5 separate regions of the Homo sapiens genome follow, and regions 2, 3, 4 and 5 are each linked to region 1. Evidence: promoter capture Hi-C in human tissues and cell types (Jung and others, 2019). All regions are on one chromosome and are shown on one strand. The core of a region is centred on a gene start or on the middle of the fragment in contact, and the rest is flanking DNA. Distances in the headings are between cores, read along the strand shown. Region 1 holds the start of CAPN15 (calpain 15). Region 2 holds the start of POLR3K (RNA polymerase III subunit K). Region 3 holds the start of NPRL3 (NPR3 like, GATOR1 complex subunit). Region 4 overlaps LUC7L (LUC7 like). Region 5 holds the start of LUC7L (LUC7 like).

Region 1 (5,275 bases), core at 1,275-3,774:
CGCTTTGTGTGTTGCCCAGGCTGGTGGTCCGTCGTCTTTTTGACCCAGGCCTGTGTGGCTCACAAAGCAGGCAATTGCAGGGTCATCCCATCAAATCTGAGCATGGCACCAGAGCACACAAGTCAGCCACCTGCGGGCCTTGGCACCCTCGTGCTCCACGCCAGGGTCCCTGTGTGCTCAAGTCTGGGCTCCATGATGGCACTGGGGTTTGTTCTGTTTGCTGCTTTGTGCGCGTGAGGCTTTCTCTGGGTGCCTGAACAGATGCCTCCAGTTTCAGTTCTTTCTGTTTGGCCCTCCCCATCCTCTTCTCCTCCAGGGGGGATTCATGGCTCGCCTCTTGGCTCTTCTGGGCACTTGGCGAGCTTCTGCGCACTTGCGTTAGCTGCTCAGGTCTGTCTGGATGTGAGAGTCGTGTCCTCAGGCCAGGAAGCACTGGCACGGAGCAGGGCTCGGTCAATGGTCTGGATAATCCAGAGTCACTTACCTTCTGCTGTGCAGTCATTTACAATTCACGCCTGTGTGCCTGATGTCTTGTGACTCAGAATCTTCAAGACAATCACAGGCTGGCCTCACGGAGGCACGAGTGACTCATTTCTCTCATCGCACCCATTCCCTCCAGCACTCTCCTTGTGCGGGGAAACCTCAGTCACCTTGAAGACGCCTCCTGAGGCCCTCTTCTGGGTGAATGGGCTTCCTCCTTCACCATGACAGGCTACTGGGGAGAGCTGGGGTGCTCCCACCCTCTCCTCACCCCAAATGGGCCTGGCCTAGCAAAACTGGCCAGAACTGGCCACTCTGCAGTGAGCTGGCAGGGCCCTCAGCATCAGATCAACAGGTTCAACTGCAGCTGCCTCTCTGGTGGGGAGGTTATAAGGCCTGCTGGCTAGACCACTGGCCCCTGGCCAGGGAGCCACCTAGGCAGTGCCAGGGAAGGACTGGGAAGGGAAGAGAACCTGCGGTCCCTGAGTGAGGCCTTGACTGCACCCTCTCCTGTGGTTCGAAAGCCACACTTGGCCAGTATCCTGCCATGCAGGTGAGGAAGCTGGGGAGGACAGGGTCCCAGAGCCTTGTCCAAGTTGCAGAGAGGAGAGCCAGCTCTCACTCTGCAGCCCTCTGTGCCCCCAGACCCCCACTGGCCCCCGGGGACACATTTCCTGCCCTTGGGATGCTTTGGCATGGATATAGTCTGGGAACAAACGGCACATCCAGCTGCCCTGCCTGTCTCCACAGAGGGGGCAGCAGACCTAGGGGGAGGTGTCCAAGACACAGGAATGAAGTGTCCTTACCAAAAGCTTCCGAGGACAGAAATAAACCCCTCCTGCCAGCTTCTGCACTGACTGCAGCTAGAAGCCGAGCTCCACGTGGGACACAGGTGTCCCTGCTGCGGCATCTCAGCATGACGGAGGCCCATCCTTGGCTTTCCTGGAGCATGAATATCCTCTGAGGAGCACTGGCCCTGGCCTTGTAGGTCTTGCTGAGACTGGCTTAGATTTTCTGGCCCAGGAGCAATCGTCACCCAACCTCCCACTTGTAAATCTCGCCACAGAATCGGCCCACAACCGTCTCTCCGGAATCTCGGCGGACCAGCCCTGCTCCTGTGTCTCCCTCTCCCGCAGAGCCACTGCCTTCTCAGGCTCCTCAAGTGCACCTAAGAGCGGGAGTCTGGCTGCCCTCAGCACTCGCGTCCCGCCCTGCAGCCTGATAAGCTTGACGCCAAGGCATTCTCCCGAGAGCCGGCCCAGCAGCTGCTGGCAGGAGAGTGGCCTCAGGGCAGCGGGAAGGGGACCTCCGGGGAGAGAATGAGGCCTGCGCAAGGGTCCTGGAAGGACCCAGGAGTCGCCCCGGCTTCCCTCCCCCAGGCCCTGGTTGGGCGCCGTGGGCCGCGTCCCAGTTGAGCCCGGCGTGGCCGTTTAATGGCGTCCCTCCGCGACCGAGGACGAAGGGGCCTAGAGAGGCTGTGCCCAAGCGACGCTGCGAGGCCAGGCCGCGTCTCGGGCCAGGGCGGTCCCCTTGCCACCGCCGCTCTTGGCCGCCAGGACCAAGCACAGCACGCAGCGTCGCGAAAGGGGCGGTCCTGGAAGGCGCGAAGGGGTCTCCGGGTCTCGCGAACACGGCGGGGTCGGGGCGGAGTCGTGGGTCCTCGGTCGAGCGGCCGCCCAGAGCCCCGCGGGACACGGACGGCCCCAGCCCGGCTCCCCGCGAGCCCCACGCGTCTGTGACGCCGCTGATGCGCAGACGCCGCGGCTGCAGGCCCCGCCCCTCCGTGCCCCTCGCAAGGCCCTCTGGGAGTTGTAGTTCCAGCTCCTCCTCGGGCCGCCCCACTCCCTGATAATCCTGGAGCGCGGCGCCTCCCGGGGACCGAGGCCTCGGGCCCGGCCGTCTCCAGCAGCGAGGGCAGGAGAAGTGGCCCGGGCGGTCGGCGGACTGGGAGGGCGCCACCCGAGGACTACAACTCCCGGCCTGCCTCGCGCAGGCACCGCCCCGAGCTTCCGCCCCGTCGGCGCCGCGCAGCCCTGTGGGAGCCGTAGTCCGGGCGCGCGATTCACAGCGCCGCGTGCGCCCCGGGCGCGCCGTAGCCGCGGGGCCCGGGCCGGGCGCTACGCTACGAAGGCAGCGTAAGGCGGGCGCCGGACGCGGGCAGGGGCCGGGGCCGGAGCCGGGTCGGGGCGCCCCGCGGCTGAGGAGCGGGAGGCCGTCCGGGCAGCGCGGCCGGCGGCGAGAGGGGCCCCGCCGCTCTCCGGAGGCAGAAGTTGTGGATCGGCCGGCGGGGGCGAGCGGGCCCGGGGGCCGGGGCCGCGCTGCCCGGGCCGCGAGGACGAGGCGGCGCCGCCGGGCTGTGGAGGTGAGTCCCGTCGGCCGGGCCCGGCCGGGCGCCCAGCCGGGGACCCCGGGCGGGGAGCGCGGGCCCGGAGGGCGGCGGGGAGCGCGGGCTCGGCGGGGCGCAGGAGGCCTCGGGGGCCGGGCGCGCCGGGCTCCGAGCCAGGGCAGGGACGGCAGGGCCCCCGGAGTGGGGTCAGCCCGCCGCCCGCTGGCGCCTCCAGGCTGGTGGGGGCCAGGGCTGGGCGATGCTTCGCAGAGGAACCCAGAGGAAGGCGGGAAGTCGGCAGGGACCTGGGCCATGTGGGTCACTTGAGGCCAGCCCCGGGGGCCGCGCACACCGGAGGCGGCCTCGGCCCTGCCTGCCCTTGAGTGCCCTTATATCCGGGCCCATCGTGCGGTCCTGGCCGCCTTAGGGATGTTGTGCTTGGTGCGGGCATCACTCCCCTCACTTGGGGAACGGCCTGGGGGCGGCCACCTGGCGTGGAGGGGCTGGCGGGAGCCCCGTCTGTGCCAGCCATGCCAGTGTTCTCTTCCGTGTTCCTCTGGGGCTGCTGCGGCACCAGCTGGGAAGTTGCAAATCTGCTGTCCTCCCGCTGGCTGCAGAAGGGGCCCCTCTAGTCCTGACCGGGGGAACTCTTGTGTGGTCAGCTGGCCCTGGCCGGGCGAGCTCTCGGGGCCCCCTTACTGCTCTGGAGTTTGTTACCGGACTGCAGGTAACAAGACCCGGAAAGCAATGGTGAGGCCCAGAACCTGAGGCCAGGCCTGGGTGTGTGGGGCCAGTGGGGAAGACTGGGACTCCGTTGGGTGCTGAAGAGTTGTGTGCTTCTCCTTCGGGAAACCCGGATCTCTTCCTCTGCCCAGGTCTGAGGGGTGCGGAAACGTGAGTCACAGTTCAGTGTGGGAGTGCCCCGTAATTGCCTCCGCGTTTCCAGAGTCTGGGGCTGGGCAAGGATATAGGGGTGATTCTCCCTTCCGGTTCTGAGTGACTTCTCAACTGTGAAGTGGGGCAAGAGAAATTGTTTTTCTGGCCTGTCTGGGGGAGGCAGGTCCTGCAGGAAACCAGCTTGGCCTGGCCTTGGGTTGGGTGTGCCTTGCCTCCTCCGAGGTCCTTCTGCTTGCGGGAGGAGCACCCCTCTTTTTCCTGCTTCTGTCTGTGTCTGAGGCTCTCCAGAGCTCCTTGATTGGCAGAGGAGCCAGTGACCTCTGAGTCCCCAGGAGAGCCCGAGGCTCAGTAACTGCATAACTGCGCAGGGCCTCTTGTCTGGGCCTCCACAGACCGTGGTCTCTGAGAGCAGGAAGTGGCTGGTCCCCTGTAATGCTGCATCTGTGTGACAGCCTCAAGCCCTGCTGGCTCTCTCTCCGGGCACCCCTCACTTGCTTCTTGCCCTGGCCTTGGGCAGCACTCCGGTAACCCCAGTGCCACAGGTGAGGAACCGAAGCTGGAGACAGCTGTTCATGGCAGGGGAGGGGCCGAGGGAGGCTGAGCGCCTGGTCTCTCCCTCCTGCTGGTTCCACCAGTTCACACGAGGCAATTGGAGGGAAGGATTCTGCTGCCCGGAAAATCCTCCGGAACCACAGGTGTTGTTCATGGGCCTGAGCCGCTCAGTGAAGAACTCGGCCGTTGGTGGCCGAGTTGCCCCTGGTCCAGCCCTCTGGCCCGCGGTGTGATGCCTCTACTCATGGCAACAGGCGTGGACAGGTGCTGAGAAGGAGGACGACATCATTAAACAAAACAGCTTGGGGTCTTTGAAAAACAGTGACAGAAACCCAGGAAGGCTGGTGACTTGTCAGGTCTGTGTCTGTCCTGGGTGGCCACTCGGCCCTGGACCGTGAGGCTGAAATGACAGGAGACACGGAGGGTGGGCTTGGGTGGTTTCCTCATAAGACACAGAAGAAGGAGGCCCCCAACCCGGGGGCTGCCTCGTGCGCTTTGCTCTCCTGTTTTCCTGCTCTGTCCCTCTGGTCCTGCCCTCTGACCCCTGGCACAGCAGGAGTGCCCAGAAGCCCAGTGGGACTTGTTCTCTGCCTAAAGCCCTTCCGCATCCCTCGTACCCACTCGGTGTGGATGTGGGTTTTCTCACCACCAGGCTGTGCCTCAGCTGTGTGGAGCCACTGGCCTCTCATGCCCCACGCTGGAGAGAACGCTGAGGTCTGTGCGGTTCTCATGTGACCCTGTAGCTGGTCCCTGGCTCCCCACTGTGGGATCTGCCTGCAGCACTTACACTTGGGACCGCCCTGTCTCCCTGCTGGATGTGGCGCCGAGGGCAGGGTCCGTTTCTGTTTCTTGGTAGGCCTAGTGTCTAGCGCTATGCAGCCGTGCGCAGAGCAGGCGGTCAGTGAGCACCTGGGGTTGGCCCTCACCACAGGCAGTTCTGAATACCTGGGTTCTGGCAGCCCAGGGGGACTCCTGCGTGCTCCAGGAAAGTAGCACAGCAGCCCCTGTGGCGTGGACACG
Region 2 (5,275 bases), core at 2,776-5,275, 470 kb before region 1:
CCTCAGCCTCCTGAGTAGCTAGGACTACAGGCACGCGCCACTGAGCCTGGCTAATTTGTTTTTTTTTTTTTTTTGAGACGGAGTTTTGCTCCTGTTGCCTGGGCTAGAGTGCAATAGCACGATCTCAGCTCACTACAACCTCCGCCTCACAGGTTCAAGCGATTCTCCTGTCTCAGCCTCCCAAGTAGCTGGGATTACAGGCAGGCACCACCACGCTCAGCTACTTTTTGTATTTTTAGTGGAGACGGGGTTTCACCATGTTGGCCAGGATGGTCTCGATGTCTTGACCTCGTGATCCGCCCACATTGGCCTCCCAAAATGCTGGGATTATAGGTGTGAGCCACCGTGCCAGCTGCTAACTTTTTCACATAGCAGATTTGTATGTTCTTTTTTTTGACAGAGTTTCGTTCTTGTTGCCCAGGCTGGAGTGCAATGATGCAATCTTGGCTCACTGCAACCTCCACTTCCCGGGTTCAAGCGATTCTCCTGTCTCAGCCTCCCGAGTAGCTGGGATTACAGGTGCTGCCACCACGCCTGGCTAATTTTTTGTATTTTTAGCAGAAATGGGGTTTCACCGTGTTAGCCAGGCTGGTCTCGAACTCCTGACCTCAGGTGATCCGCCCGCCTCGGCCTCCCAAAGTGCTGAGATTGCAGGCGTGAGCCACCACACCCAGCCTATATGTTCTTTTATAGGGGGAAAACCACAGTACTAACCATCAGTTATCTCTCTCACCTCTCAATATAACTTACATTTACGTCTTCCCCTTTCCTCTCCTGGCCACATCTATGTCTACCAGACATGCAATAAACATGTATTTTACCCAATCTGCAGTTTAATGCTCACTGGTATTAACTTCTAAAAATCTATATTAGAAGCGTGTATTAGTCCGTTCTCACACTGCTATGAATACCTGAGACTGGGTAATTTATATAGACAAAAGGGGTTTTGTTTGTTTTGAGACAGAGTCTCACTCTTGTCACCGAGGCTAGAGTGCAGTAGTGTGATCTCGGCTCACTGCAACCTCTGCCTCCTGGGTTCAAGCAATTCTCGTACCTCAGCCTCCTGAGCAGTTGGGTCTACAGGCGAGCGCCACCACACCCGGCTAATTATTTTATCTTTAATAGAGACAGGGTTTCACCATGCGGGCCAGGCTGGTCTGGAACTCCTGACCTCAAGTGATCTGCCTACCTTGGCCTCCCAAACTGCTGGGATTTACAGGCGTGAGCCACGACACCCAGCCAAGAAAAGAGGTCTAATTTACTCACAGTTCTGCGTGGCTGGGGATGCCTCAGGAAACCTACAATCATGGCGAAAGGAACCTCTTCACAGAGCAGCAGGAGACAGAATGAGTGCGAGCAGGGGAAACGCAAACGCTTATAAAACGATCTGATCTTGTGAGAACTCACTCACTATCAGGAGAACAGCATGGGGGGAAACCGCTCCCATGATTCAATTACCTCCCACTGGGCCCCTCCCAGGACACCTGGGGATTACGGAAACTATAATTCAAGATGAGATTAGGGTGGAGACACAGCCAAACCATATCAAACAGAAAGAACATACTTTTTTCCTTAGACTCTTATTTTTATTAATCTACTCATCATTGCCATTATCAAAGCTATCACCTGTTGAGTGCCTCTTATATACCAAGCACGGTATAATTCACTTTATGCTCTCGCGGTCTACGAATATGGATTAGCCCCAGAGAAGTCAAGAGACCCAAGGAAGGTCCTACAACAATACAAGGTTGCCCTGAGAATCTGACCCGGGCCTGTATGACTCCAAGGCTGGCACAAATATTGCTTGTCTGACAGATTATTAAACAGTAACAAATACAAATAAATTATTCAAGAACCATTTTCTATTTTTAGAAACCTACATCATTTATATGACATCATAGACTCTGCCAAGCAGTGGCATCAACAGCCTCATAATTATCCACAGTTTAGCAACAGAAACAGTTTTCCCTCTTACCTGCAGTAGAGTCAACATTCTCCCAGGCAGCTGCTCCACCAAGCACATCATCCACTTCTTTCAGTTTTGGGTACTTCCGATTTGTTACCTAACAAAAACAACACTTCAGACTCCAAGTAACTGAATAGCGCAAACCTGGGCTGCCAAACCTTAAATTTCAGGATTACATAAGAGTTCACTCGGCTGGGCGTGGTGGCTGACACCTGTAATCCCAGCACTTTGGGAGGCCAAGACGGGCGGATCACGAGGTCAAGAGATCGAGACCATCCTGGCTAACACGGTGAAACCCTGTCTCTACTAAAAATACAAAAAATTAGCCCGGCGTGTTGGCGGGCGCCTGTAGTCCCAGCTACTCAGGAGGCTGAGGCAGGAGAATGGTGTGAACCTGGGAGGCGGAGCTTGCAGTGAGCCGAGATCACACCACTGCACTCCAGCCTGGGCTACGGAGCAAGACTCCATCTCAAAAAAAAAAAAAAACAAAGAGTTCACTCTTCCCGTAGTTTCAAACTCCAAACTCCCACAACACAGTACAAACTGGAGTAGCATGCAAACATTAAGACTGACGTAGCACCAACATATTCTAACTGCTAAAAAGTAAAGGTATTCTGGCCAGGCGTGGTGGCTCACGCCTATAATCCCAGCACTTTGGGAGGCCAAGGCAAGCGGATCACCTGAGGTTGGGAGTTCGAGACCAGCCTGGCCAGCGCGGTGAAACCCCGTCTTTACTAAAAATACAAAAATTAGCCGGGGATGGTGGCAGGCGCCTGTAATTCCAGCTACTCGGGAAGCCGAGGCAGAAGAATTGCTTGAACCCGGGAGGCAGAGGTTGCAGTGAGCCGAGATTACGCCATTGCACTCCAGCCTGGGAAACAGAGCGAGACTCTGTCTCAAAAAAAAAAAAAAAAAAAAAAAAAAAAAAAAAAAAAAAAAGGTCGGGCGCGGTGGCTCACGCCTGTAATCCCAGCACTTTGGGAGGCCGAGGCGGGCAGATCACGAGGTCAGGAGACCGTCCTGGCTAACACACGGTGAAACCCCATCTCTACTAAAAATACAAAAAAATCAGCCAGGGGTGGTGGCGGACGCCTGTAGTCCCAGCTAATTGGGAGGCTGAGGCAGGAGAGTGGCGTGAACCCGGGAGGCAGAGCTTGCAGTGAGCCGAGATCGCGCCACTGCACTCCAGCCTGGGCGACAGAGCGGGACTCCGTCTCAAAAAAAAAAAAAAAAAAAAAAAAAAAAAACAATAAAAAAAAATAAAGAAAGCACACAATACATTACATAATATATTAGAAGGTAATAAGCCCTATGGAAACAATTACAAAGGGAAGGAGAATAAATTGGAAGGAGGGGCTGAAATTTAAAATACGGTAAAGACAAGACCAATGAGTAAGGTGGCGATCTAGGGGAAGAGTGAACTGAGCAACAGCAAGTGCAAAGGCCCTGCTAGCACCATGAGCACGATGAGAGATCGTCCAGGAGGCGGTGTTGATGCGGCAAAGGGCAACAGGAAGGGCATTAGGACTTGAAATCGGAGACGCACGCAGGGGAGGGAGTCAGTGTCGGAACCTGGTAGGCCCTGGGAGAACTCCGGCTTTTCGTCTGCGTGAGCTGGAGAAGAGCCGAAGGTTTCTGCGCACAGCACGGACCTGCGTGCCTCAGCTTTAAGGAAATCACCGTGGCCGCCGCTGTGAACGCAGAGAAGGGCGCGAGCGTGGGAGCAGGAACCCAAGGCGGTGGGAAACGGTGGGGCTTTCTGAGTGTATTGGAAAGTAGAGCCCACAGATCTGCTGCAGACCAGAAAGGGGCGCGAGAAAGAGCGGACAGAGGCAGACGCCGGGGCTGGCGGCGATGGAGCAGCAGTCGGAGGACGCGGAAGGCCTGCGAGAGTCGCCCGCGCCCAGCGCCGGCCTTCGGGTCCCACCTTGCGGGTGATGTTGTGCACGTAGGGGCACGTGTTGCAGGCGAAGCGGTGGCAGCGTTGTCCCTCCTCCACGATCAGCCCGTTCCCGCAGCCGGGGCAGAACAGCAGCATGGTCTCGAACTCCGCAGGCTCCAACTCCCGGCAGCTCCCACTGCCGCTCAGCGCCGATGCGCCGCCCGCCTCGAGCTCACATTGGTCCTGGCAGCCTTCCCGCCACACCAACCAACCAATAGACAGGGCGATTCTGCGCTCCCGGCCCTGCTGCAGGCTGTCTCGCACTTGTCATTGGTCACTGCAGCCGCCCCACCCCCCCCGGCGCGCCAGTGGCTGGGCGGCCTCGCTGGGGCGGGCCGCAGTTCCTGCGCGTGCGCGCTTGGCCTCCCTAGTGCGGGCTGGCAGTGCGGGCAGAGCCCGGCTGAGAGGGGCGGCCCTGGAGGAGACGGAGGCCGCGGGTGGGCCCGAGGCGCAAGAGGAAGATGAGGACGAAGAAGAGGCGCTGCCGCACTCCGAGGCCATGGACGTGTTCCAGGAGGGTCTGGCTATGGTGGTGCAGGACCCGCTGCTCTGCGATCTGCCGATCCAGGTGTGTGCGGGCGGGGGCTGGGGGCGCGGGAGTCGTTCCCCGGGGTCCGGGCATCCGGGCGCCGGCAGCCTCCGAAGGTGCTGGTGGGAGACTGCGGCCCAAGGCTGAGGAAGGCGCCTCTGGGCGTAAACGAGGGTTTTAACCTTGACCGGGCGCACTCGCCTGGGGCGCGAAGCTTAAAGAGGAACCAAAAACCTCATTAGTGAGTGACATCAAATGACATTTTAATGTAATTGTATTTAGGGGGCTCGGGGGACAGGGTCTTGCTGCGTTGCCCGGGCTGGAGTGCAGCGGCGTCCTCCCACCTCAGCCTCCCGAGTAATTGGGACCACAGGTGCGCGCTACCACACCCGGCTAATTTTTAAATATTTTGTACAGAGGGAGTCTCACTATGTTGCCCAGGCTGATCTGAAACTCCTGGGCTCAGGCGATCCTCCTGCCTCGGCCTCCCAAAATGCTGGGATTTAGGTGTGAGCCACCCGCCTGGCCTGTAATACCTTTAAAAGTCAAAGTTGAGGCAAAAAAAGAGCCTACGGTAAAAGAAAAATTTAGTTTTAAATAAGAGCAAGATTAGTAGTACTGATTGTTCCATTTGCCTCAAGCGTCAATCATGTGTCAAAGCGTCAGTATCATGCTTTGGGACGATACTGTCTTTTTATTTATTTATTTATTTATTTGAGACTGAGTCTTGGTCCGTTGCCAGGCTGGAGTGTAGTGGTGCCATCTCGACTCACTGCAACCTCCCCCTCCCGGGTTCACTACAGGCACGCGCCACCACGCCCGGCTAATTTTTTGTATT
Region 3 (5,275 bases), core at 239-2,738, 390 kb before region 1:
ACTCCAGCCTGGGCGACAGAGTGAGACTCCGTCTCAAAAAATAAATAAAATAAAAACAAAAACTGAACATTCATGATGATGAAAAATCAAAAGTAACCTACATGCCGTCCACAGGGGAAGGCAGCAGCCTGCAGCCAAGGGTGAGGTTGATCCCTGCTTGCAAAGGCAGACGGAGCTCCAAGGCCGACTATGGGAAAAGGGCGCCACAGAACAATTCGTGCGATGAAAAACCTCACGCGACGTTCCCTTTTCCTGTGGATAGATCTGCATCTATGCACAGGGCAGACAACTCCCAACACGGCCAGGGGTGATCCCTGTGCTTGCTAGAACTGGGGGTGGCAAAGACAACTTCAGATGTTCACGTAACTTTTTTTTTTTTTTTTGAGACGGAGTCTTGCTCTGTTGCCCAGGCTGGAATCCAGTGGCGCGATCTCGGTTCACTGAAACCTCCGCCTCCCGGGTTCAAGCAATTCTCCTGCCTCAGCCTCCCAAGTAGCTAGGATTATGGGCACGCACCACCACGCTCGGCTAATTTGTTTTTTTTTATTTTTATTTTTTCAGTAGAGACAGAGTTTCAACCATGTTGGCCAGGCTGGTCTCGAACTCCTGACCTCAGGTGATCCACCCGCCTCGGCCTCCCAAAGTGCTGGGATTACCGCCACCGGCCTTGTTCGTGTAATTTTGTATTTTCTCATGATGAATACATCCCAAACTCATTTTATTTTATTTTACTTTATTTTTTAAAGGCTGGAGACTGATGAAATGTCAGCAGTAGTTGCTTTGGTGTGGTGAACAATGCATGATTTTAATTTTTTTTTTCCTTTTTCTACTTTTCAAATACTCTACAACGAGCAGATCTCGAATGCCCAGCAAAAGCTAAGCTCCGCGAGGCGGCCCTGGAATGAGGCGACCCCGGAATGAGGCGGCCCCCGCGAGCGCCAGGCCCCCGCCCAGCGCTCACTTACTTGTCTGGGACGCCGGGTGCTCCTGGCTTCTCTGGAAGGGGTACCTGAACAGCAGCTTATTGCCCCTGCTCCCCGAGCTCACCAGAATCACGCTGATGGGGCTGGTGTTGTCCCGCATCCCGCCGTGGGGCCGGGGCCGGGGGCGGAGGGGGCCAGAGGAGGACGGAGCCGGAGGCGGAGGGGGCCTGAGGAGGACGGAGCCGGAGGCGGAGGGGGCCTGAGGAGGACGAGGCGGGGACGCAGGGGGCCTGAGGAGGGCAGGGGTGGAGGCGGAGGGGGCCTGAGGAGGGCAGGGGTGGAGGCGGAGGGGGCCTGAGGAGGGCAGGGGTGGAGGCGGAGGGGGCCTGAGGAGGGCAGGGGTGGAGGCGGAGGGGGCCTGAGTAGGGCAGGGGTGGAGGCGGAGGGGGCCTGAGGAGGGCAGGGGTGGAGGCGGAGGGGGCCTGAGGAGGACAGGGGTGGTGGTGGACGCGGAGCAGCGCCACAGTTACCAACCCACGTGCCACGCTCCGGGCTCGCGAGACTTCGGCGACACCGTCCGGAGGAGGTGCTAAGGCGGCGGCCGGGAGAACGGCGCAGGCGCAGGCGCAGGCGCAGGCAGCGGAATGCGCAGGCGCGGGGCCTTCTGGAAGCCACCGAGTTCCGCGGTGCTGTCTGGAGCCGTACGGTTCGCGTTTGGGGCACAGGGGCCCCTCTTGCTGGTGCGGATGGGAAAGGCGCGGGGTCGAGTCAGCGTCCCTCTCGATGTTGGTTTCTTCGTTTTACAAATAACACTTGGGCGGGGCGCGGTGGCTCACGCCTGTAATCCCAGCATTTTGGGAGGCCGAGGCGGGCGGATCACGAGGTCAGGAGATCGAGACCATCCTAGCTAACATAGTGAAACCCCATCTCTACTAAAAATTAGAAGAAATTATCCGGGCGTGGTGGCAGGCGCCCGTAATCCTAGAGGAGAATCGCTTGAACCCGGGAGGCGGAGGTTGCATTGAGCCAAGATCACGCCATTGCACTCCACCCTGGGCGACAGAGCGACGAGACCCCGTATCAAAAAAAAAAAAAAGAAAGAAAGAAAGAAAAAAGAAAAAAAAAAGGCCGGGCGCGGTGGCTCACGCCTGTAATCCCAGCACTTTGGGAGGCCGAGGCGGGTGAATCACGAGGTCAGGAGTTCGAGACCATCCTGGCCAACATGGTGAAACCCCGTCTCTACAAAAAAAAAAAAAAAAATTAGCCGGGCGTGGTGGCGGGCGCCTGTAATCCCAGCTACTCGGGAGGCTGAGACAGGAAAATCGCTTGAACCCGGGAGGCGGAGCTTGCGGTGAGCCGAGATTGCGCCACTGCACTACAGCCTAGGCGACAGAGCGAGACTCCGTCTCAAAAAAAAAAAAAAAAAAAAAAAACACTTGGAAGCCGACAGGAGATCTTTGAGACCTTGGGCGAGGCAGTGACACTAAAGGCAGGAGCGACTACAGAAGAATAAATTAAACTTCATCAGATTAAAAACTTTACTGCGGCCGGGCGCGGTGGCTCACGCCTGAAATCCCAGCACTTTGGGAGGCCGAGGTGGGCAGATCATGAGATCAGGAGATCTAGACCATCCTGGCCAACATGGTAAAACCCCGTCTCTCTACTAAAAATACAAAAATTAGCTGGGTTTGGCGGCGCCTGCTTCTAATCCCAGCTACTCGGGAGGCTGAGGCAGGAGAATCGCTTGAAGCCGGGAGGCGGAGGTTGCAGTGAGCCGAGATCGTGCCACTGAACTCTGGCCTGGCGACAGAGCGAGACTCCATCTCAAAACAAAACAAAAACTTCGGTGCTTTAAAGGACACCATCAAGAAAATTAAAAGTCCACCCACAGAACGGGAGAAAATATTTGTAAGTTACATATCTGATAAGGGAATTGTATCTAGAATGGAGGAAACTTACAACTCAACAATAAAAAGACAATTGAAAAATGCACAAAGGATATGAATATTTTTCCAGTGCATTATGCAAATGGCCAATAAGCACCAGAAGATGCTCAGCTCAACTGGTAGAGGCTTACGCCTGTGACCCCAGCGCTGAGAGGCCAGGAACTCCAGACCAGCCTGGGCAAAACAGAAATTAAAAATGCTCAACATTATTAGGCATTAGGGAGATGCAAATCAAAACTACAAATAGATGCCACATCACACCTCCTACGATGGCTGTAATCAAAAAGACAAGCGTCAGCAGGGGTGTGGAGAAACGGGAATCTCTCTCCTGCTGGTGGGAATGTAAGAGGCTACACTCGCTATGGAAAACAGGCTGGCAGTTCCTGAAAGGTTAGAGTTAACACAACACTCGGCAAATCCCCCTTTTAGATATATAGCCAAGAGAAATGAAAGCATATGTCCACACAAAAACATGTGTGTTCTTAGTAATATTATTCATAATAGCCCAAAGTGGAAGCAATCCTAGGGTATATCAATTGATGAATGGGTGAATATGGTATAGTTTGTTTAAGGGAATACTATTCAGCCATAAAAAGGAATGAAGTACGGCACATGAATCCATCTTGAAGACACACTAATATATGATTCCATTTATATAAGATGCCCAGAATAGGCAAATCCATAGAGACAGAATGATTAGTGGCTGCCTAGGGCTTCCAGGGGGTCAGGGGAAATATGGAGCGATTCATGGGTTTTTTGAAGGGGAGTGATGAAAATGTTCTAACGTTGACTGTGGTAATGGTTGGACAGCTCTGAGAACGCGAATACACTAAAAGACATGGAAGTGCCGGGCGCAGTGGCTCATGCCTGTAATCCCAGCGCTTTGGGAGGCCAAGGCAGGCGGATCGCGAGGTCAGGAGATCGAGACCATCCTGGCTAAGACAGTGAAACCCCGTGTCTACTAAAAATACAAAAAATTAGCTGGACATGGTGCGGGCGCCTGTAGTCCCAGATACTCAGGAGGCTGAGGCAGGAGAATGGTGTGAACCCGGGAGGCGGAGCTTGCAGTGAGCCAAGATCGCACCATTGCACTCCAGCCTGGGCGACAGAGCGAGACTCCATCTCAAAAACAAAAAAAAGATATGGAAGTGTACACTTGAAGTGGATAAGCTTTATGGTATGCAAATTGGTATGGTATGGTAAATTATATCTCAATGAAGTTGTTTTTTAAAAAATCACCCCACCTACCCTATCCCAGGCTTCCCCAGGAGGTAACTAAAGGTAATGAGCTTCTTTGGCTGCTTCCAGAACTTTCCCAAGCACATCAAATGCATCAGAACCTAACCACTTGACTGAGGGATGAGCATTTTCACTGTTGCAAGTAACCCTCTTGCACCAACACTGACACTAATGTGTATTTTGCAGAACAAATTTGTGGATTGGCCTCACCAGGGTGAAGGGTACGTGCATTTGAAATGGCTCAACAGTACCAACAGGTGCGTTTTCTTGCACAGGGCTGCATAACATTTTTTTTTTTTTTTTGAGACAGAGTCTCGCTCTATCACCCAGGCTGGAGGGCAGTGGCACAATCTCAGTTCACTGCAAGCTCCACCTACCAGGTTCACATCATTCTCCTGCCTCAGCCTCCCAAGTAGCTGGGACTACAGGTGCCCGCCACCACACCAGGCTAATTTTTTTTTTTTTTTTGAGATGGAGTCTTGCTCTGTCGCCCAGGCTGGAGTGCAGTGGCACGATCTCAGCTCACTGCAAGCTCCACCTCCCAGGTTCACACCATTCTCCTGCCTCAGCCTCCCCAGTAGCTGAGACTACAGGCGCCCGCCACCACGTCCGGCTAATTTTTTTGTATTTTTAGTAGAGACGGGGTTTCACCGCGTTAGCCAGGATGGTCTCGATCTCCTGACCTCTTGATCCACCCGCCTCGGCCTCTCAAAGTGCTGGGATTACAGGCGTGAGCCACCGTGCCCGGCCTGCATAACATTTTTTTTTTTCCTGAAATTCCCAGAAAGGAAAATGGTGTCTTGTTCTATGTTGCATTTCTTTGATTGAGAGGGAGAGCTGCATCACTTAATTATTTGCAGAGAATTGCTTTTCTTGTTTTCTTTACAGGTGGTCTGTTCTTGGATGGTCTGGCTGTGTTCTTTCTGAGGAATACATAACCTCTGCTACACATTTTGCAAGGCTTTATCCCCGTTGTCCATGTTTTGATTTTATGTATAATCAAAAGGTTTGTGAGTTCTCCCGCACTTCCCAGGAGTGCCTCTGGGATGGAAATGAGACTGCAGGAGCAGGGCTTGAGGCTGGAGGGGTGAGATGGGACAGATGGGGGTGGGGGAACCCAGGGCAGTGGCCGGTGGTGGTAATGGAGGCCTCCTCACAGGGACCCTC
Region 4 (5,275 bases), core at 972-3,471, 330 kb before region 1:
GTTTTCAAGCTGCCTGCATGTTCCCAGTCTGAATGGGAAGTGCCAATGCTCCCATCCCCACAGCCACTCTGTGGCACACTCAGTGTCACCTGAGCCTCACAGACAGGCCCACATCCGAGCATCAGACGCAGCCCTGTAACATTACAAGGGCCGTGAAAAGTCTGTGCACACTGACTGTGCTGCACTCAAGTCCTACAAATGATTCTCCAGTCTTTACAACAGACACCAGCACAGAATGTGCAGACAGCGAGTGGGGCACACCAAAAACACAGAAAAGGAAAAGCAAAGCCCGAAGTTCCAGGCACAGGCTTCCTGTCAGGTGAGAGTCATCAGCTCATTCTGCCACACAACCAAGAGGCTGAAAAAGGCAAGCTATGAGGCCTCATTCTATGCCCGTAAGCCATTAAGGTCAAGTGGCCCCATGTACATCCGCAACACAAATGGCCTAAACATGACAGTGCATGTAAAAATGTAAACTCCATGCAAAAAATGGATTGTGTGTTTTGCTTAATATTTTCTTCTATACTGTTTAAGTTTCTCTCCAATCAGAATCTCCTGCTGGTAAAACAACAAACGGCCGGGCGTGGTGGCTCACGCTTGTAATCCCAGCACTCTGGGAGGCTGAGGCAGGCAGATCATGAGGTCAACAGATCGAGACCAGCCTGGCCAACATGGTGAAACCCTGTCTCTATTAAAAATACAAAAATTAGCTGGGCGTGATGGCACAGGCCTGTAGTCCCAGCTACTTGGGAGGCAGAGGCAGGAGACTCGCTTGAACCCAGGGGGTGGAGGCTGCAGTGAGCCGATATCGCACCACTGCACTCCAGCCTGGTGACAGAGCGAGACCCTGTCTCAAAAACAAACACAATAAACATTCGCCCTGAGTTATGCACTGAGGAATTATTTCAGGAAAAGTGGTTTGGGAACCTTCCTGGACAATGAGCTGTCTCCAGGAGGATGTGGATACTTCTGGCTCCTACCTCTTTGAACTCCAAACAGACTCAACAGCCCCACCTCAAGATGGCCTCTCAAGCTGAGTGTGGCCAGAGGCATCTTCTACTTCCCACCTCCTCCCACTCCAATACACCACACCCAGCCTTCCAACCTCACCAAGCAGCAACTCCGGGCCAGAAACCAGGAGACCAGCTTCATTTCCTCCTCTGCACGCTTCACACACTACCAGCAAATCCCATCAGTTCTATCCCAGAACTTTCCCCGACTCCTTGCACCCCTTACCTGGCTTAAACTGCCACCTCCTCCATCTGGATTTTCCCACCTAGCTCCCCAAGGTCCTGCTGCTTCTACTCCAGCCCAGCACGCTTGCCAAAGGGGAGCAGGCACCACCCCTCCTGCGTAAACAGGTGTCCAATGGCCCCATAGCACTCAGTAAGTAAACAGCAGTGCCCACACACAGCCTCCAACAGCTTGGATCCCTTACCTGACTGCCATGCACACACAGTCCTGCGCTGGGACGTGTTTTGTTTTGTTTTGTTGGACTGAATATGCTGTTTACTTTTTTTTTTTTTTTTTTTGGTTGAGATGGAGTCTCTGTTGCCCAGGCTAGAGTGCAGTGGCACGATCTCGGCTCACTGCAACCTCTGCCTCCCGGGCTCAAGTGATTCTCCCACCTCAGCCTCCGAGTAGCTAGGATTACAGGCTCATGCCAGCACGCCCAGCTAATTTCTGTATTTTTAGTAGAGACAAGGTTTCACCATGTTGGCCAGGCTGGTCTCGAACCCCTGACCTCAAGTGTTCTGCCCGCCTCAGCCTCCCAAACTGACAGGATTACAGGCGTGAGCCGCCAGGCCTGGCCTTACTATTTTCTTTTATAACGGCCTATTGGGCAGGCCCTGCCTATTCCAAGCAACAGTGGAATGGACCGAGCAGGGAATGCCCGAGGCCAATGCAGGCCATCCAGTGCCAGCCCTCAGGCTCACCTCCTGCTCAGACGCTCCTCCCGTTCCCTCTCCTCTCTCCTCCTCAAGCGATCCTGATTTCTCTTCTCCTGCTTTTCAGCGACAGTTTTCTAAATAAATGAAACAAAAAATGAGGAAGAGCAAGTTACACAAACCAGAGTGTGAATGCTACTTAACAAATCACCTTTATATGAGCTCAGTATTGGTAATTTAAAAATTGAAGGGACACTTTTAGGAAATGGGAATACTTTTTTTTTTCTCTTTGAAACGGTGTCTCACTGTCACCAGGCTGGAGTGCAGTGGCGTGATCTCGGCTCACTGCAACTTCCACCTCGAGTTCAACCTATTCTTCTGCCTCGGCCTCCCAAGTAGCTGGGATTACAGGCACATGCCACCACACCCAACTAATTTTTGTATTTTTAGTAGAGATGGGGTTTCACCATGTTGGCCAGGATGGTCTTGATCTCTTGACCTTGTGACCCGCCTGCCTCAGCCTCCCAAAGTGCTGGGATTACAGGCATGAGCCACCGCGCCCGGCCAACACATTCATTTTTAAAACTTCTTAATGAAGAAGATAACACATGAAAAAATGCTTTATCATTACATTTTTTTTTCCTGAGACAGAGTCCGCCCTGTTGCCCAGTGCAGTGGCGCGATCTTTGCTCACTGAAGCCTCTGCCTCCTGGGTTCAAGCGATTCTTCTGCCTCAGCCTCCTGAGTAGCTGGGATTACAAGCGTGCCAGCACGGCCGGCTAATTTTTGTATGTTTAGTAGAGACGGGGTTTCACCATGTTGGTCTGGCTTGTCGCAAACTCCTAACCTTGTGATATGCCTGCCTCGGCCTCCCAAAGTGCAGCAATTACAGGCGTGAGGCACTGCACCCGGCCTCGTTTACATTTACTTTTTTTTTTTTTTTGAGACGGAGTCTCGCTCTGTCACCCAGGCTGGAGTGCAGTGGCGCAATCTCGGCTCGCCGCAAGCTCCGCCTCCCGGGTTCACGCCATTCTCCTGTCCTGGCCTCCGGAGTAGCTGGGATTACAGGCGCCCGGCACTGCGCCCGGCTAATTTTTTGTATTTTTAGTAGAGACAGAGTTTCACCATGTTAGCCAGGATGGTCTCGATCTCCTGACCTCACGATCCGCCCGCCTCGGCCTCCCACAGTGCTGGGATTATAGGCATGAGCCACCGCGCTTGGCCACTTTTTTTTTTTTGAAACAGGGTCTTGCTCTGTCCACCCAGGCTGGATGGAGTGCAGTGGCGCAATCACAGCTCACCGGAGCCTTGACCTCCCAGGCTCAAGCAAGCCTCTTTAGCTCCGCCTCCTGAGTAGCTGGGACTATAGGCGTGTGCCACCATGGCAGACTAATCTTTAAACATTTTTTATGGAGATGGAATCTTGCTATGTTGCCCAGGCTGAGCTTGAACTCCTCAACTCAAGCAATCCTCCTGCCTTGGCCTCCCAAAGTGCTGGGGTTACAGGCCTGAACCACCCAGCCTATCATTAGATTTTAACAATGTGGTAACAAACTGTCTATTCTAAGTGGTGCTATACTTCTAACTCACAGGGAATTGATCACATTGTTTCAAACCAACCCAGATAGGTAGGAGACTGTACAAACTTTATGGTAAAAAAGGACGGATGTATCTCATCAAACACATCTTGCTACTGGGAGCAGAATCCCTACAGCCAAAAAGCAGCCCAACCTCAGGGTGCTGGGTGCTACGCTGGCTTTAGAACAAACTGAGTTGGAGGACAGCAGGCCAGGGGAGGTGGACCACAAATCCTCTGCAACTGGCTTTCAACACAGGATGATGTGAATCATCAGGCTTGATGAAGAAAGCAATATAAGGGGATGAGAAACCTCGCCAATGAAAATACCGTCAACACAAGCTGAGTGGAAAAGCACCGGGCACCGTTCTGTATACCCACTACTCCCAATATCAACTCTAAGACATTTAATGCCCCTCATCTGTGTCAAGTGAAGCCCTGAGTGGGAGCAAGTCAGAGCCAGTAAGACAAAGAATCACGAGTCTTCTCCATCCAGAGAGCCACGATGGCATAAGGATAATCTTCCATACCCAGTGTGGATGAGAGCACGCTCCCCACAAGGGCACGGAAAGTATGCAGAGCTGGGTGACTGGTATCTCCAGCTCTAAACTTTCACCCATGCTCATCCTGTGTCTGAAGCAGGGCACACATGGATGGACACCTTTAAGGTGATGTTTAAGGATGGCATTTAAGCCAGGTACGGTGGCTCATGCCATTTCAGCACTCTGGGAGGCTGAACTGGGAGGATCATGTGAGGACAGGAGTTTGAGACCAGCCTGGGAAACATAGTAAGACCTCCTACCTAAAAAAAAAAAATGAGCCAGATATGGTGGTGCATGCCTGTAGTCTCTGCTACTCAGGAGACTCAGGATGCAGGGCCACTTGAGTCCAGGAGTTCCAGGTTACAGTGACAATAAGCTATCAGCTACCATCACATCAGTACACTCCACCCTGGGTGCCAGAGGGAGACCCTGTCTCTGAAAAAAAAAACGAAAAAAATCCTCTGTTGTCTAGGTTGGAGTGTAGTGTCGTGATCACAGTTCACTGCAGCCTTGAGCTCCAAGGTCCAAACAATCCTCTTACCTCAGCCTCCTGAGTAGCTGGACCTACAGGCACACACCACCATGCTTGGCTAATTTTTAAATTTTTGGTAGAGACAGGGTCTCCTTATGTTGCCCACGCTGGTCTCAAACTCCTGGATTCAATCGATTCTCCTGCCTTGGCCTCCTAAAGACTGGAATTACAGGCGTGAGCCACCACACCCAGCCTCAAGGATGGCAGTTTTTAAAAAAATTAAGGATTAGCCAGGTGCAGTGGCTCATGTGTAATCCCAGCACTCTGGGAGGCCTAGGAAGGTGGATACCTCTGGGACTACTGTGAGTGAGGCCTCCTCTAACTAGGGCACAGAACTCCCACTCTCCCTATCATTAAGAGGTGCACTTCCAAATACATTGTGCACTGTTACTTTAATAATTATTTATCAAAGTCTGTAATACGAGTTGTGTTGTTTTGGTCAACTCTATGCTGCAATGATAAAACAAGCTTTCTAACCAAGTTAATGCTTCTTAAGGTAGAAGGGAAAAACATTTCACAATATTCACATTTCTAATGCAGAGATACACATTAAGGAAATAAAAGATTGCAGATATTAAAAAAAAAATACTACATTAGGGCCAAGCACTGTGGCCCACGCCTGTAATCCCAGCACTTTGGGAGGCCGAGACAGGTGGATCACCTGAGCTCAGGAGTTCGAGATCAGCCTGAGCAACACGGTGAAACCCCATCTCTACTAAAAACACAAAAATGAGCC
Region 5 (5,275 bases), core at 1,003-3,502, 300 kb before region 1:
CACTCATGTCAGAGTGTTCCATGAGGTCCCCCAAAATGCACCTACCGTCCCAGCCAGGATGTCATGGGGGCAGCAGTCCAGAAGGTGACTCTTGCAGACACGGTCATCTGTAAACTTGACCCTCTGTCTGGTTTCGTCTCCTGAAATTCATTTGTGGTTTTAAATAAGACAATATTATCACATTAACCACCAAAAAATAACTAGTATAACAATTCACCTGGATGATTTGCAGACTATCATTTCTGTGTTCTCCCCATCAAATGCAATGAAAAGCTGATCTAAAGATATTTACAACTGGAGTGGAATACACATTTTTTTGAGGCTAGTTATATCATGGAGAATCACACTTAATGAGATCTGACTCCATCACTGTACCAAAGAAGTCAAGGAGTCAGACGTAAACAGCTGAGCACCAAAAGGCCATTGGCTCCACATATACATGTGGCAATGAGACTGCAAAACCCAAGCTAATCAGAGGTCCATGAACCACCAAGGGTGACTTATAGAGCTGGTAATTTCCACCAACAAAAGCTACTTATTAATCTAATCTTTTTGTTATGAACAAATGCAGAGGCAGTATTTTGCCCAAAATTGAATGAAGAAGAAAGCTTTCAAACTCTATCGAAGACTGTTAAATAATCTAGATCTATTCTTCCTACGTCCCTTTCGTTCCCACCCTTAAAAAAGAGAGTTGCTACCTGGGAGTCACTTTTAACAAGACAATACCAAAAAAAGCAAAAAAGGAACTAGGTTAGTCAATACACACTGTGAGCTCCAACACATACTGTACCCATCTGCATTCTTCAAGACCTCAGCTGCAGAATTTTATGCCCGCTGTTGAAAAGTGTTAAAGGAAAAGTTTTCTTGCCCACACCTGCAGTAAGGAAGTCGGGGGAATGATACATAAAAGTAAAGGTAAAGTGGTATGTGACAAATTTTAAAGCTAGTCTGTGTATACAACACAGAGCTGTGCAACGCTAGAGGAGGAATATATTTTAGGATTTGCAAGCATCCAGGATTAATGTAGTGTCTTTTTATTGAAAATGTTTTCTTTCTAAACTACACTTTTAAAGTTACTTGTGAAAAAAAGCAAACACTTTTTTGTTATAACAGCTTAGAAATTGGTTGTGACTCACGGCTCGATGAACATGAGGCTTTCTGCAACTCCCTTGCAGATTGATGTAGGCAGGCAAAGATACACTGAACCTTTATAAATAAAATAGAGGGGCCACAATTGTTCAGTTTGTATGAAATAAAAATATGGGAAGCAATTCAAAAGCAACTCAATATACAAAGAAAGCTAAAAAGCACTTATTCACCTATGAAATAAAGTGCAAATAATCTGCACAGCCCTGAGAATGTGCCAGTGTGAACTTACAACTTCATTACTCAGCAGAAAAGAAAACACAAACCACAGCAGGTATATAGTTTTGCAAAGATGCAACCGCTTTCTCCTGTGACAACCATCATGATCTTGAGCTCCTCCCTACACAGTACAACCTACCTAACGACTGTCAAGCGCTGGCTACACAGAGGCTCTCCTGTGTGCTGGGGGGAAGGGGGCAGCTGGAAAAGTACTTGGCAGAAACCCACGTTAGAAAAGCTCAGTTTACGGTTCCCCTTGCAATGGTACAGAACCAGAGCGGGCCAGGTTTTCGAGGCCCATCCGGCTCCCTCGGGTGTAGCTTCTTCCCAAGGAGCCTCGGAAGAGTTCTGCCACCCGGCTGCCAGCGACCTGGAGCCCACGCTGATTCCAGCCCTCCGCCGACTCCACAGTTCGCGGAGGGGCACGGAGCCGCGGCGCCCGCCGGGGAGGAAGTAGCAGGACGGTACATAGGAAGGAGGCTGAAGCCCCATCCATGGCGCAGACTCCGAGAGAGGAGCCCGACCTGGACCCACGGCCGCCTCAGAGACGCACCGGCTTAGACAAAGGCCCGGCGCCTGCGGTCGGAGCGCGGGGGAGGAGGAGCGATGCCCCGCGCAGGCGCAGGCGCAGACGATCGCGGCCCCCGCCTCAGGCCGCCCGGCGGCCTCGCCTCACTCCCACCCCAGACCCTCGCCTGGTTGGCCGCTCTGACTCACCGTCCCGAGCCGTGCCCATGAGCTGGTCCAGCAGGGCCCGCATCTGCGCCTGGGCGGACATGGTAGCCGGCGGAGGCGACGGGGTCGGCCGCGACGACTTCTCTCAGGCAGGCGGTGGCAGCGGCGTCGACAAACGATGGTCGCGTCGGCCTCGAGCCCACTCGGCTCTTTCCCGCCGCGGGGGACGCCGGGAGGAAGTACGACGGCGCCGGCGCACGCCCTGCTGGGAAATGTAGTTTCTGGGGTGGGTGCTTAGGGAGGCTGAGGCTCTGAGTGGTCGCAAGTTGTCCAACGGCGGAACCAAAATCCCAACCCTGATTTTACTCTAGACCCCCAGGACCTCAAACGAGTCTCTACGGAGGGTAAACTACAATAAAATGAAATACAGTCAATCAAAAACAAGATGAATCCGTGCTTTTTCTAAGCTAGCCATGAAACCGTGAGCATATTATTTAGCTCCCCGACGCTCGTTTTTTTAAATCTGTGAAATGAGGGTTCTAAAGGTGCCCCTCATATGATTTTTGTGAAAGTTAAATAAAGCATGGAATTTTATTTATTTATTTATTTATTTATTTAGAGCGAGGGTCTTGCTCCGTCGCCCAGGCTGGAATGCAGTGGCGCGATTACCGCTCACTGCAGCCTCGACCTCCCCGGCTCCTTATCCTCCCGCCTCAGCCCGGCAAAGTATTGGGATTACTGGTGTGAACCACCACGTTTGGCCATCAGTCATGGCATTAATATTAGGTTCTATGATTACAACCTCGTGGTCGTCCTTTTGTGAGCTCATGGTCTACTGTCCCAGGGACTAAAGAAAAGGCATATGTAAGCAGTTATTTTATGTGATAATAGAATTATAGCATGCACTTATGTGTGCATAGTCTGGCATATACTTCTATTATATTAAACCTCTATTATTTATTTATTTATTTTTGAGACGGAGTTTCGCCCAGGCTAGAGTGCAATGGCGCGATCTTGGCTCTCCGCAACCTCCGCCTCCTGGGTTCAAGCGATTCTCCTGCCTCAACCTCCCAAAGTGCTGGGATTACAGGCATGAGCCACCACGCCCGGTCTTTATTTTTTATTTGTTTATTTTTTTTTTGAGACGGAGTCTTGCTCTGTCACCCAGGCTGGAATGCTGTGGCGCGATCTCGGCTCACTGTAAGCTCCGCCTCCCGGGTTGAAGCGATTCTCCTGCCTCAGTCTCCCCAGTAGCTGGAATTTCAGGCGCCCGCCACCCCCTCCGGCTAATTTTTGAATGTTAAGTAGAGACGGGGTTTCACCATGCTGGCCAGGCTGGTCTCAAAGTCTTGACCTCAAGTAGCCAGCCACCATGCCCAGCTGATTTTTGTATTTTCGGTAGACACGGTGTTGTACCGTATTGGCCAGGCTGGTCTTGAACTTCTGACCTTGTGATCTGCCTGCCTCGGCCTCCCAAAGTGCTGAGATTACAGGCGTGAGCCACCGCGCCCTGCCGTATTTTATTTATTTTTGAGACGGAGTCTCCCTCTGTCGCCCAGCCTGGAGTGCAGTGGCGCGATCTCGGCTTCCTGCATCCTCTGACTCCTGGGTTCAAGCGATTCTCTTGTCTCAGTCTCCCCAGTAGCTGGGATTACAGGCACCCGCCATCATTCCCGACTAACTTTTTTTTTGTACTTTTGCAGAGACGGGGTTCCGCCATGTTGGCCAGGCTGGTCTTAAACTCCTAACCTCAGGTGATCCGCCCACCTCAGCCTCCCAAAGTCCTCGGATTACAGCTGTGAGCCAGAACGCCAGGCCCCTGCTCTCTATTTAAAATAAATAAATAGGGTGTCCGTTGGGCTGCTCGGGTCGGATTCCGCGGTGCCAGCCCTTCCCCATGGCCGACCCTGAGAAGTTGCAGGTTTCTTCGCCGCCCCCGCCGCCTCCTTCTCCCTCCTCTTCAGACGCCTCTGCAGCATCTTACCCTGGCAGCCCAGTGAGTTTGGGCTGGCCAGTTCCGAGCAGGAGCAGCGGCCGAACGGTGGACCCGCTGGAGGAAGTGGGGCTGCAGATCGGAGACGCAGCCTTTTCATTAACCAAACTTCTTGAAGCCACATCTGCAGTATCAGCTCAAGTGGAAGAACTTGCCTTCAAATGTACAGAAAAGGCACGTTTCCTTAAAACGTGGCGGGACCTATGGAAAGAAGGCTATGATTCTTTGAAACCTGATGACTAATTTGGCATACTTCGTTGTTTAATAATGACTGCAATAATTCATACTTCTTCTTATGTCATATTTGTACGTGTACCACACGTATAGGATGACCTCTGTCCAGCAGTTCTGTATATACTCAGAATGAATTTTTTCTTGGTTTTCTTGGCTTTTCTGAAAGCAGAATACCGATGCTATTTTTGTTGCGGACCAGTACTTGTTTGTCCTTACATACTTCATGCCTCTGAACTTTCGTAGAATCCTTTATGAAAGTTAACTTCATCAATAGATGGTTAATATTAATAGAGCCACAGGGCTACCAGCAGCAAACTAGGTGGACCATTATTTGTTTTGAAACAAGATGCTAAGCATGGCAGAGTTTGAAGTTGCATTTCATCTTAAGGACCAAGGGAGGTAACTTTAAGGTTGCCAGTGGTGGATCCAGCTCCATTAGGCTACGTTGTCTACAGCTAATGATTGTGCTTCATTCTGTATCCCCAGCACCTAAAACAGGGTCACACAACACTCACTGTTGGTTGAATACAAGAATTAACAAACATAAAAATAAATAAATAAATATAGGCCGGGTGTGGTGGCATGTGCCTCTAGTCCCAGCCACTCGAAGCTGAGGTTGGAGGATGGATTGAGCCTGGGTGGTTGAGGTTGCAGTAAGCTGTGATCACACCACTGCATGGCAGCCTGGGCAAAAGAACGAGACCCTGTCTTGGCCAGGCACGGTGGCTCACACCTGTGATCCCAGCACTTTGGGAGGCCAAAAAAAAAAAAAAAGAATGAGACCCTGTCTCAAAAATGAAATTAAAACTTAAAAAACATGCCAGGCTGGGGGCAGTGGCTCATGCCTGTAATCCCAGCACTTTGGGAGGCCGAGGCAGGCGATCACCTGAGGTCAGGAGTTTGAGGCCAGACTGACCAACATGGAGAAACCCCATCTCTACTAAAAATACAAAATTAGCCAGGCGTGATGACGCATGCCTGTAATCCCAGCTACTCGAGAGGCTGAGG

What was found. Contacts are between HindIII fragments. The study calls those that stand out against the background at their distance.
Region 2: the fragment with the promoter of POLR3K here is called in contact with the fragment with the promoter of CAPN15 in region 1 in 2 of the 25 tissues and cell types used here (heart right ventricle and lymphoblastoid cells).
Region 3: the fragment with the promoter of NPRL3 here is called in contact with the fragment with the promoter of CAPN15 in region 1 in 2 of the 25 tissues and cell types used here (dorsolateral prefrontal cortex and lymphoblastoid cells).
Region 4: a contact is called between a fragment that was not itself captured here and the fragment with the promoter of CAPN15 in region 1, in 1 of the 25 tissues and cell types used here (lymphoblastoid cells).
Region 5: a contact is called between the fragment with the promoter of LUC7L here and the fragment with the promoter of CAPN15 in region 1, in 5 of the 25 tissues and cell types used here (bladder, dorsolateral prefrontal cortex, lymphoblastoid cells and 2 more).

The regions. Positions count from the first base shown.
Region 1 is chr16:525,188-530,462 of GRCh38, forward strand. It overlaps CAPN15 (calpain 15), which reads left to right and starts at 2,525. Exons shown (of 14, transcript NM_005632.3): 1 at 2,525-2,842. LINC00235 (long intergenic non-protein coding RNA 235) reads right to left here and starts at 2,220. Exons shown (of 1, transcript NR_024121.1): 1 at 1,660-2,220. RefSeq lists an enhancer at 1,084-1,645. The HindIII fragment of the contact is 8,144 bases long and covers 1,500-5,275 here.
Region 2 is chr16:49,583-54,857 of GRCh38, forward strand. It overlaps POLR3K (RNA polymerase III subunit K), which reads right to left and starts at 4,026. Exons shown (of 3, transcript NM_016310.5): 1 at 3,894-4,026; 2 at 1,976-2,063. The coding sequence starts at 4,004. SNRNP25 (small nuclear ribonucleoprotein U11/U12 subunit 25) reads left to right here and starts at 4,246. Exons shown (of 5, transcript NM_024571.4): 1 at 4,246-4,476. The coding sequence starts at 4,435. RefSeq lists enhancers at 3,292-3,818, 3,547-3,706 and silencers at 4,037-4,356, 4,497-4,596. The HindIII fragment of the contact is 23,499 bases long and covers 1-5,275 here.
Region 3 is chr16:137,185-142,459 of GRCh38, forward strand. NPRL3 (NPR3 like, GATOR1 complex subunit) reads right to left here and starts at 1,489. Exons shown (of 14, transcript NM_001077350.3): 1 at 1,458-1,489; 2 at 966-1,150. The coding sequence starts at 1,083. RefSeq lists a silencer at 919-1,148 and an enhancer at 1,369-1,418. The HindIII fragment of the contact is 17,392 bases long and covers 1-5,275 here.
Region 4 is chr16:190,990-196,264 of GRCh38, forward strand. LUC7L (LUC7 like) reads right to left here. Exons shown (of 10, transcript NM_201412.3): 7 at 1,938-2,026. Among named protein-coding and RNA genes, the nearest start is that of HBQ1, 13 kb to the left of the region's middle. The HindIII fragment of the contact is 8,652 bases long and covers 1-5,275 here.
Region 5 is chr16:227,197-232,471 of GRCh38, forward strand. It overlaps LUC7L (LUC7 like), which reads right to left and starts at 2,253. Exons shown (of 10, transcript NM_201412.3): 1 at 2,083-2,253; 2 at 46-140. The coding sequence starts at 2,143. It also overlaps the pseudogene C4orf46P1. RefSeq lists a silencer at 1,867-2,096 and an enhancer at 1,929-2,625. The HindIII fragment of the contact is 19,974 bases long and covers 1-5,275 here.